3 separate regions of the Homo sapiens genome follow, and regions 2 and 3 are each linked to region 1. The links are contacts of gene promoters, found by promoter capture Hi-C in blood cells and fetal thymus (Javierre and others, 2016). All regions are on one chromosome and are shown on one strand. Each heading gives the region's core, a stretch centred on a gene start or on the middle of the fragment in contact. The rest is flanking DNA. Distances are from core to core; before and after follow the strand shown. Region 1 holds the start of MYL5 (myosin light chain 5). Region 2 overlaps DGKQ (diacylglycerol kinase theta). Region 3 has its middle 66 kb from the start of ZNF732.

Region 1 (3,846 bases), core at 239-2,738:
GGCTAATTTTTGTAGAGACAGGGTTGCACCATGTTGGTCAGGCTGGTCTTGAACTCCTAACCTCAGGTGATCTGCCCGCCTTGGCCTCCCAAAGTGCTGGGATACAGGCATGAGCCACCACGCCTGGCCAGCTTCCCCATTTTTAAACAATCCGCATCTACTTAGCTCTGCTTAAATGTCCTCCTCCATTTTCCTTATCCCTGCACAAACCTGGGAGGGACAATCTATAAGAGCCAGTGTCACTCGTACCTTCTGCCAATTCTCTGGCAATCCGTTTCAGTTCATCCTGCTTCTTCTTCTCTTCTGCTGCTATCCTCCTCTCCTCTTCTGCCCGAGGTTTTAGGTAATCTGTTTGGCGGAATGCAGGAGAATAAAATTCACTGGAAATGCTGTACAAAAGGAACTGAGTCCACAGGTCAAGGTATCTTCAGCGACGCTGTAAACCAGACGCACCTGCTGTTCCCGCTCTTTATGTTAATGCGAGTCAACGCCTGACCTTCACCCTGACGAGTCCAACCCAGAGGCTACAGGGCCCCTGCTGCCCACCCGCTCACGCACTGGCTCACTCGTCCTCTGCGAACAGGGACTGCCTCCCATCAAGACCTCAGCACTCGAACAGCCATTTAGCACCCGTTTTCACCAAGAAGCAGCCGTTTTCGAGTCCCCCGCCCGGGCCTCAGAAGCCTGAGCTTTGGGTGAGCTGATTCCACTATCGGGGTCACGCTCGGTGGAGGACACGGTCCTGCAGCCTCGCATGCGTCCCAAGCCCCCTTCCAGAGCTGGAGTTCTCCAAATAGCACAGGAGCTCCACAGGAAAGCCGAGCAGACCCCGCCCCGGCCCCGCCCGCGGTCACTCACTGTAGCGCGTGGCTCCGTAGGCCACACCGAGGAACAGGGCGGAGTAGCGGCCGAGCTGCGAAAGAGGTTGGTCAGAGGCGGCGCGAAACGGGGCTCGCGGGACGGGGGTCGCGGGAGGAGGGGGGGCGGGGTCGCTGGGCAGAGGTCGCAGGAGGGGTGGGGGTCCGGTCGCCGGGCGAGGGTCACGGGGCGAGGATCATGGGGGCGGGGGCCGGGGGTCGCAGCCCGCGGGGTCGGAGCTGCGGGGCGGGACACGGGGGGGCCCAGAGCACTGGGCGGCGGCTGCAAAGCCTGGATCACCTTGATGAGCGGAGAGACCTGCACCGGTGGCACCATCTTGTCCCTGACCTCCGCACCGGAAGCACAACCTGCAGACGGAGCAGGATGCCGCACAAGCCAGCAAAGCCTTGGAGGCAAAGGCGGAGCTGGGCGCACGCATGCGCCGTCAGCGGCGAGAGAGCGGGGGGCCGCGCCCCCTGGCGACCGAAGGGTGACTGCGCGCCCCCGCGCGGCGGTGACGTCACGTGAGGCGCACGCGCACAAAGGCTGGGGAGTGCGCGGAGGATCATCGGCTGCGCCTGCGCAGTTGCTGCGTGAGGCGGGATCTGCGCCGAGTGGGCGGGGGGTTTCCTTTCCCCGCAGGGCTGGGGGTCCGCTGTTTCCCCGCGCTGCTGCCGAGGCCCCGCCGTCCGCGTCCTGGCCGTGTGTCCACACCCCAGACTGCGGGCCGGGGCGCACTCTGTCTTCTTGCGCGGAGCGTCGGAGGCCTGAGGTCAGGGCGGCTCGGGCGGGTCCAGCCCCGCGGACCGCGCCCACCCGAGGGTGGCCTGGGCAGGGACCTGGGGGTCCTGGGAGCGGAGTGTGAGCCGAGTGCAGGTGGCTCCCCGGGCAGGTCCTTCTCCTACAAGGCAGTAGTGTCTGTCGCCGGCCGGGCCGCGTTGGATTCCGCGGCCCGCGGGAGCATGGCCTCCAGGCCCCTCTTCCTGCGGCTGCTCTGCCCGGGAGCACGGGGCGCCCTTCATCCCGGAGCTGGAGCTTCCTCACCCCAGGATGCCCCATCACTTCTGTCCCGAAGAGGGGCTGGGATCTTCTTGGGAAGACCAGCCCCCAACAGAGGCTGCTCCCTGGGTCCCCCGACTCCAGGCCTCAGGACTCCACGGCTCCAAGGGCCTGCCCCGGCCCAGGCCTGGGGACCACTGAGCCCCACACTGGTCTTTGCTGGCCTCTGTCCACCTCCCGGTAGCTGTGTGTCTCCCACAGCTGCCCAGAGATGGGGCCTGCGGTGCCTATGCAGCCTCCCCGCTGTGCCCGAAGTGCTGACCCGCCAGCCCCATGGACACCAGGCTTGGAGTCTAGGCAGGAGCCTGGCACCCCCTCCACGTTCTGGGTCTTCCTGGCGGCAGCCATGCTGCCCGTGCTGGGCCACCCTCGGGCCCCCTTTGGCCCCATGCAGTAGTGACGCAAGGCCTCCTGTGTCCCCTCCTGGCCCTGCACTGCTACAGGCAGAAGCAACTGGAGAACTATGGCTCGGGTCTCGCTAAGGTGCAGCATCACAAACTCCAGGACTCTTGAAGCAAGCATGGGGAGGACCCGTGATCCTGGCGGCCTGGGCTACCTGTCCGGGCCTAAGTCGCCTCTGCCCCCTCTCCTGGCTTGCTCTGGGGTCCAGGGCCTGGGCCTCTCTGGCTGAGAAACTAGGAAGTCACTGGGCTCTGTTTCCTGAGCTGGGTATACCAAGGCCAGTCCTATAGGGCAGGGGTCCCCAACCCCCAGGTGCAGACCAGTACCAGCTTGTGGCCCGTTAGGAACCGGGCAGCACAGGACGAGGTGAGGGAGCATGATTGCCCGAGCTCCACCCACTTTCAGATCAGCCTGGGCATCAGATTCCCATAGGAGCGTGAACCCTACTGTGAGCTGCGCACTTGGATCTGGATTGCGCTCTGGTGAGAATCTAATGCCTGATGAACTGAGGTGGAATAGTTTCATCCCGAAACCTTCCTCCCCAACACGGAAAAACTGTCCTCCGTGAAACCTGTCCCAGGCGCCAAAAAGGTTAGGTACTTGCTGTAGGGCCACCTGATCTTTTCTCCAGCTTCTGTGAGGTTGGCTGGCAGTCCCTGAAGACTCCTGCCTGAGGCCTCTGCCTGAACCCTGTCCTCAGGGGGCCAGAAGCAAACTCCAGCCCTCCCCGTGTCTACTGCTCGCTGAGGAAGCCGCAGGTGCACACTGGATCCACAAGGCACAGAACCATCTTGGCCCTCGGCAAGCCCCCGCTTCCGCCAGGGCAGACGGCCTCAGGTGACAATGGGTTTTCCCTTCACTGGAGTTTAAAATAATCCAGACTCCTCAGCAACTCCTGCTTCCAGAATCAAAAATAAGTGTCTCTGGGGCCCAAGGTAGGGGGTGAGGGGGACATACCAGCAGCTTCCACCAGAGGTGGGGCGGGGCAGGGCACCAGCAGAGAAAACATGCGGGCAAACACACACGGCCTGGGGAAAACCCCCTGAAGCCAATGGAGACTTGCCTTTGCTCAAGGCCTTTCCTGAGAGCTTAGTGGTGGGACGGGTCCCACCTGGCTCAGCACACCGCCCGCAGGGGCCTCTGCAGCTGTCAGGTCAGCTGTGGGTGCAGAAGCCGATACTCCCCCGGCTCAGGCTTGCTGCTATCTTTAGCACTGTGCTCAGACTCCAGTGGCCTGGGAACCCTCTGCAGGGGGCTCTGCAGCCCTTCTCACATTCCCGGTGGCCTCGGGGGGCCTCCCAACCATGCTTCCCCCCTCGGTGTGGTTCTCCCCACTCCTGCAGCCCAGCAGTGCCCCTTCAGGATCACACCCAGACCCCACTGGACTGGCAGCAGGGGATGCCCTGGCCCTTGCTCCCAGCCCCAGGGTTCCACATCTGGTCACCTGACACCTTGCAGTCGGCCCCAGGTCCCTCCTGGGCAGGTCATGCCTCCAGGGTCCTCAACCTCAGGAGTCAGTGCTTCATA
Region 2 (3,061 bases), core at 1-2,500, 300 kb after region 1:
GAAGACATTAAAATCAATTTTAAAAAGCGGCAGCCTCGGGCCGTCCACATGACGAGGGGCCGCCCAAGCCAGTGTGGAATCACCAGGGTGTCGGCCACCACCAGGACCACCGGCCTAAGGCCTCCTGCTCACACCCGGGGAACTGCATCATTAGGAACAGGGCGTCAGACATTAGAGGGGACGGCGCAGCCGGATGCCCGCCAGTGGCAGGTGTGCCTGCTGGCCTGGCTTCCCGTCCTGCTGCACACCCGGGCCTGCCTCGCGGCCTGCGCCCCACCTGCAGCCTGAACGCATCAGGGAATGCGGACTTGGGGGGCCTCAGTCTGAAGACGGCGACGCTGACAGCTGAGGGAGGAATAAGCCTGGCCCTTCCTACATGTCCCTGCTGTCACCACTGTCACCAGAGAAGGGAAGTCCCCTGTGCCCTGCAGTGACCTGGGCCAGTCACCTCCCTGCCCCACCCAGAGCCCTTAGAGGGAGGGTGGTGGCCAAGACACCCTCAGGCACCCAGGCTTCCTGCCTTTGCTTTTTATTCAAGCTTCCTTGAGATGCTTGTGGGTTCACACATAGCTGTGAGGAAACTGAACAGACCCCCTGAAGCCTTTGTCAGCTCCCCTAAGTGTGTGATCTTGCAAACTGAGGTCACGCCAGATGCCGAAATCTCCATCCCCCCCAGGAGCCCTCACGCTGCATGTCACAGCCACGCCCACTTCTCCGCCTGGAAACCTCTCTACATCTGTGCTCCCTTTAGTTTCGTCATTTTGAGCACATTCTATGGACAGGATCTTGCTATTTGCGACCTCGGGGACTGGCTTTTATCACCATCATTCCCTGCAGATCCATGCAGGGTGCTCAGCCTTTTAATCCCGAGCAGTATCTGCCCTTTGCCTTTCAACTGCAGGTATCACTAACGTCTGACATGAAGGTTTTCAGTGCCTCGACCCTACGAGAGCTGACACATCCCCCAGCCTCTTGCAGGTGCAACACCCAGCCCCACACTCACCCGGACCAGGCTGGGTGCCACACTCGTGCACGGGATCCTCACGTGCTTCAGGCACTTCTCATGAGACATGAAATTGCAGACTGTGGGAATGAGCACTGTGTGAGTTGGCCCCTGTCCTACCCAATGGCTGTCCTACCCAGGAAGTTAGAGGCCCCAGGGCAATGACTGCCATACCCACCATGCTGCACCAGGGGCCCTGTGGTCCTCGAGTTCCCCCACCACCCTGCCCACTCATTGGAGAGAGCCTGCAGCCCAGGAGCCCAGGAGCAAGAACCTGGGTGGTCCTGACCATCCTGGAGGACAATGAGTGTATCCTCTCATCCAGAGAGCAGTCCCTCCCCTTCGCACGTAGGCCCAGCACTCCTCCTGCCTCTGCAGTTGGGCCTCTCAAGGGGCAGCCCTGGGCTCACCAGGTTCGCCAGGTGGCAGGGGCTTCTCGGCCTTCGGCAGATTGGCTTTACCAAGGACATCTGTGTCTCACTCCCCCGAAACTACGCATACCCCTAATTGTCCCTGCTACGTGCTGTGCACCGTGCCTGAGACCGAGAGCCACCCAAGGCAGGTGAGGGCTCTGGGAGGCAGGAGCCGCTGGGGAGTGGACAGCCCCAAGCCTCCCAAGGAGCTCTGGCTGTGTGCATAGGACCCAGGGAGCACCTGAGCCGGCGGGGTGCTCAGGAGGGCATAAGAGGAGCAAGCGCCACACCCCAGCAGTAAAACAGACAGGAGGGTGGGGCCGGGGCAGAAGGGAGGGCAGGAACCCTGGGCTGGGGCAAAGGCTGCGGGGGCTGGGAGTGGGCAGGGCACCCAGTGACACAACTGCCAAGACAGCCCCGGGTGAAGGTTGTGCCACGGAGCCCCAGGCAGTCCAGCTGGGACAGGGAGCTCTTCCAGAAGGCCCCGCTGGTGCCGCCCTTCACCTGCTGCAGCCCTAGCCACCCCAGTCTCCAGATGGGACCGGGAGAAGCTTCTCCTGGCAGCTTAAGAGAAAAGCTCTGGAAGCAGGCCAGGGTCCACCGAGAGAAGGGGGGACAGGCAGCACCCAGGTCCCTCCTCTGCCATGGAGACAGGGCCTGCTCACCCCACGCCCCACGCTTGGGTCTCCTGGCGGGGAGGGTGCCCTCCTTCCCATACCGCTGCTGGCCCCTCTTCCACGGGTGCTGCCCAGGAGGGCCCTTTTGCCCCCTCCGAAGGGGGAGGGGACCCGGAGTCTGGCCTCAAGTCGGGAGCTGCCTCAGCCACACATGCACACTCCCCACCTCTGGGGAAGCCCCTGGCATCCCCAGGCAGCAGGCATGGCTGTGCCATGCTCTGACGTGACAAAGAAGCTGGCGGGCCAGGCCACCTTGTGCAGCCCTGGGGGTCAGAACAACCATGCCGTTTCCACCACAGACGACATCCCCGTGTGAGGGGACAGTCTCCTCTGCGGACCCTGACCTGAGTGGACCCCTATCCCCAGAGAAAGGCCTGAGGCTAAGGATAGCCCCTCCCACCTCAGCGTCCCTGGCCAGGACACAGTAAGTGTCAAACGTCCAGAACTCCGGTCCTGTCCCTCGCTCCCTCCAGAGGCTGGGCTGTGGTCCCCCTGTCCCTCGCTCCCTCCAGAGGCTGGGCTGTGGTCCCCCTGTCCCTCGCTCCCTCCAGAGGCTGGGCTGTAGTCCCCGGGGCCCGCCTGCTTGCCGCGGGGGAAGATGAGAGCCAGCCCTGGGAGCACCCGGGCCCAGAACAGGGAAGGGCTGTCCTCACCCCAGCAAGAGCTGGGCAGCTGGGTGGAGCAGGGCTGGGACACGCGCACCGGGACGGCAGGGCCCGGCCTGGCTCTCCAGGAGGCTGGGACTCTGGGCCACAGCATGAGAAGGGCTAGGGCCAGGGGCCCAGGCCAGCCCTGCTTAGCCACACCTGCTGCCCCAGCCACTGGGAGAGGAAGCCGGCCATGGGGACCCCAGCTGAGGTCCCGCTCGCATCAGGCACAGCCCCTGGGTCGCAGCCATCGCGCGGCACTATGGAGATGCTGTCCGCACCTCCCAGGTGAGGAAGCCCGCAGCCTGGAGCGGCCCCACG
Region 3 (3,490 bases), core at 848-3,347, 430 kb before region 1:
TTTTTTAAATTCTAACTAGGAACTTTCAAATAACTTTTACATTTGCTGATTTTTTTTTTCCTGTATAACGGAGTCTCCTGTTAAAGCTTTCTCTTAAATATTTTAGATCTCCTATTGTGTACTTCAGCTCCAGCATATCTAACTGGTTCTGTTTTAATGGTTTCTCTTTATTATAATTGTGATTCTGTTCATACGTTGTTGCAAAAAAAATTTAGTAATGTGTGGTTTTTTTGCATCTCATTGAGATTCTTTAAGATAATTATTTTGAATTCTTAGCCATTTTTTAGATCTGTGTTTTACTGTAAGTGGTTACTAGAGAATTTTTAGTTTCTTTTGGTGGTGTTACATTTGCCTGATCTTTCATGGTCTGTGATGCCTTGTTTTTATGTCCTTGCATCTGAAGGAGTAAATATCTCTTGCAGTCATTATAGATTAGTTTGGGGTGGTAAATATTTTCTCCTATTGGATCTCTGTGCTGATGAGATTTCCAGTGAGTTTGCAGTAAGGTGCATTGGATCTGGATCACAGTGAAGTTCATGCTTGGCAGACCTGTTATTAGGGCATCAGACTGTTGTGGATTCTGTCTATTTTCTAGGAAGACTGAACTTTCTTCAGGATCTTGATCAGTAAGACTGGTGCTGAGAAAAAAAAGTCTCCAGTTGTATATGCAGATGACAGAGCTGATATAATCCATGTGAGCAGGTATGGCTTCTGCTGTGTGGCTCTTGCTGGGTTTTTAGAAATCTTCTAACCCAGTCATTGGACAGATTCCTAGATGAGAAGTACTGACCCTTGGTCACAGCTGAGAGGGTGTGGAACTGATTCATAGGGCTGCTTCAGGATACACAGCTGAGACCAAAGTCTTCAGGTTTGTTTCTGGGTTCACGGCATTTCTCCCTCCAGATTCCTGGGTGGGCAGGACTGCTCCCAGACTTTAGTTGACAGGGACTGGAGGTAGGTTTTGGGACTGGAGGTAGGTTTTGGGACTGGAGCTGGGTTTTAGGACTGCTTCAAGATTCACAGTGGGAATAAAGTCAGCCAGCATGCCTACAGGGGCACATATAGGTGTGTTTTTTGGCAGGTCCCAGGTTAGGAAAAACTGCTTCTGGACTTTGGTTTCATGGACTGGGAGCCAGATGATAGTGCCACATCAAGATCCACCATTAAATAAATATCGGCAAGCCTACATCCAGGGGCACAGATGGATGTTTCTGTCGGTTCCTGCATGTGCAGGATTTCTTCCACATCATGATAGATGTGTGCAAGGGGCTAATTAGGAGACTACAGAGAGGAGCAACATCTAAAGTCCTTTCACCTGAGACACAGGACATTATGAATCCTCCTTGGTGTCTTGGCAGATGGTGCTAGTGGCATAAACAAAACCAAATGGCCTACAGCTATACTTACAATGAGAATTAATCATATTTTATTTTGTAGCTGGGACTATGATGGGCAAGCATGCCACTCAAGCAAGGGCATGCCCTCTCAATACAGCCCTCCTGTCTTGGGTTTACACCTTTTGACATGGATTCCAAAGTTCCTATAAAGGTTCATTTGCCAGGGCATAACTGCTGCATTTTTTTATAACCATATAAGATTTAGGTAGAGAACCTCCTATTCTGCCATCTTGCTATGTCACTCCCCTTGTATGTTTTACTTTGATTGTTCTGTGTCAAATATTTTTTATTTCAAATTCAAAATGTCTGAAATAAAATGCTTAAATTTTCAAATTGTGGAATAAGTAAATGTATTGAAATGCCTCATTCTCATCAGAGCATTTTATTAATTATTGAGATTATTTTCTTTTATTGCTGTACCTTGAATGCCAAAGATTCAAAATGCCAGCTCTTCATAAGTACATAGTCACAGTTGAAAACTGTAAAGGATTGTTTTTATGATACATCTATATGATATTCAATATTTTAAAGGTCAGAAATTTTTATTCTTGTTTTCAACCCCATTTTAGTGGTTTGTTTTTAATCTTTATATTTGTATGGTAACTTTAAACCCTGTACCTTGGCCAGGGGCAGTGTCTCATGCCTGTAATCCCAGCACTTTGGGAACTCAAGGCGGGCAGATCATAAGGCCAGGAGTTCAAGACCAGCCTGACCAATGTGGAGAAACCCTGTCTCTACTAAAAACACAAAATTAGCCAGGCGTAGTGACGCATGCCTGTAATCCCAGCTACTTGGGAGGCTGAGGCAGGAGAATCACTTGAACCCAGGAGGCGGAGGTTTCAGTGAGCCAAGATTGCAACATTGCCCACCAGCCTGGGCAACAAGTGTGAAACAATGTCTCAAAACAACAACAACAACAACAACCTCTCTACCTCTTATGACCATGTGGTGTTTAATTCAAATAAATATCATTGGGTTTCACTTCGAGCAAATTAAAAAACATATATATAAATCAGACATTTCTCTTGCCAAGAAAGTTATCTATGTGGTATTTGCCTGTATATATATTGCCCCTACGTTGTTTATAAATTATTTATCAGCCAGGCACAGTGGCTCACGCCTGTAATCCCAGCACTTTCGGAGGCCGAGGCGGGCGGATCACAAGGTCAGGAGATCGAGACCATCCTGGCTAACATGGGGAAACCCCATTTCTACTAAAAATACAAAAACAAAATTGGGCCAGGCGTGGTGGTGGTTGCCTGTAGTCCCAGCTACTCAGGAGGCTGAGGCGGGAGAATGGCGTGAACCCGGGAGGTGGAGCTTGCAGTGAGCCGAGATCGCACCACTGCACTCCAGCCTGGGTGACAGAGCAAGACTCCATCTCAAAAAAATAAATAAATAAATAAAGTATTTATTTACTTGGGTGTTCATCATTGTTTTCTTGTGTGGGTGAGTAGTCAGTGTAAAATTACCATCTATTATTTTATTATGTTATTCTGTGAGAGAAACACTTTTCTTACTTGAAGGTGATTTTTAAAGACTGTAACCTTTTTAGGTAGATCTAAATATTTAATTGTGATGAAAAACATGAAAATGCCAGGGAAAAGAAAGAGAGATCAGACTGTTACTGTGTCTATGTAGAAAAGGAAAACATAACAAACTCCATTTTGATCTGTCTTTTGAACAATTGTTTTGCCTTGAGATGCTGTTAATCTGTAACTTTAGCCCCAACCCTGTGCTCACAGAAACATGTGCTGTATGGAATCAAGGTTTAAGGGATCTAGGGCTGTGAAGGCCATGCCTTGTTAACAATATGTTTACAGGCAGTATGCTTGGTAAAAGTCATCACCATTCTCCATTCTCAATTAACCAGGGGCACAATGCACTGCGGTAAGCCGCAAGGACATCTGCCCAAGAAAGCCTGGGTATTGTTCAAGGTTTCCCCCAACTGAGACAGCCTGAGATATGGCCTCGTGGGAAGGGAAAGACCTGACCATCCCCCAGCCTGACACCCATAAAGGGTCTGTGCTGAGGACGATTAGTAAAAGAGGAAGGCCTCTTGCAGTTGAGATAAGAGGAAGGCCTCTGTCTCC

The links. Contacts are between HindIII fragments. The CHiCAGO score rates a contact against its expected background, and 5 or more counts as called.
Region 2: a fragment that was not itself captured here is called in contact with the fragment with the promoter of MYL5 in region 1 in 2 of 17 cell types (neutrophils and fetal thymus); the score reaches 6.0 in neutrophils.
Region 3: a contact is called between a fragment that was not itself captured here and the fragment with the promoter of MYL5 in region 1, in 1 of 17 cell types (M1 macrophages). The highest score is 7.2, in M1 macrophages.

Annotation. Positions count from the first base shown.
Region 1 is chr4:673,054-676,899 of GRCh38, forward strand. MYL5 (myosin light chain 5) reads left to right here and starts at 1,489. Exons shown (of 9, transcript NM_002477.2): 1 at 1,489-1,630; 2 at 3,020-3,156. It overlaps ATP5ME (ATP synthase membrane subunit e), which reads right to left and starts at 1,223. Exons shown (of 4, transcript NM_007100.4): 1 at 1,159-1,223; 2 at 859-913; 3 at 250-348. The coding sequence starts at 1,194. It also overlaps a transcript of SLC49A3 not described here. RefSeq lists enhancers at 1,355-2,112, 1,990-2,059 and a silencer at 1,510-1,779. The HindIII fragment of the contact is 4,723 bases long and covers 1-3,846 here.
Region 2 is chr4:969,990-973,050 of GRCh38, forward strand. DGKQ (diacylglycerol kinase theta) reads right to left here. Exons shown (of 23, transcript NM_001347.4): 2 at 1,004-1,083. Among named protein-coding and RNA genes, the nearest start is that of DGKQ, 2.0 kb to the right of the region's middle. RefSeq lists enhancers at 1-247, 2,084-2,724 and a silencer at 2,959-3,061. The HindIII fragment of the contact is 1,429 bases long and covers 537-1,965 here.
Region 3 is chr4:238,205-241,694 of GRCh38, forward strand. It overlaps the pseudogene ZNF876P. Among named protein-coding and RNA genes, the nearest start is that of ZNF732, 66 kb to the right of the region's middle. The HindIII fragment of the contact is 4,026 bases long and covers 85-3,490 here.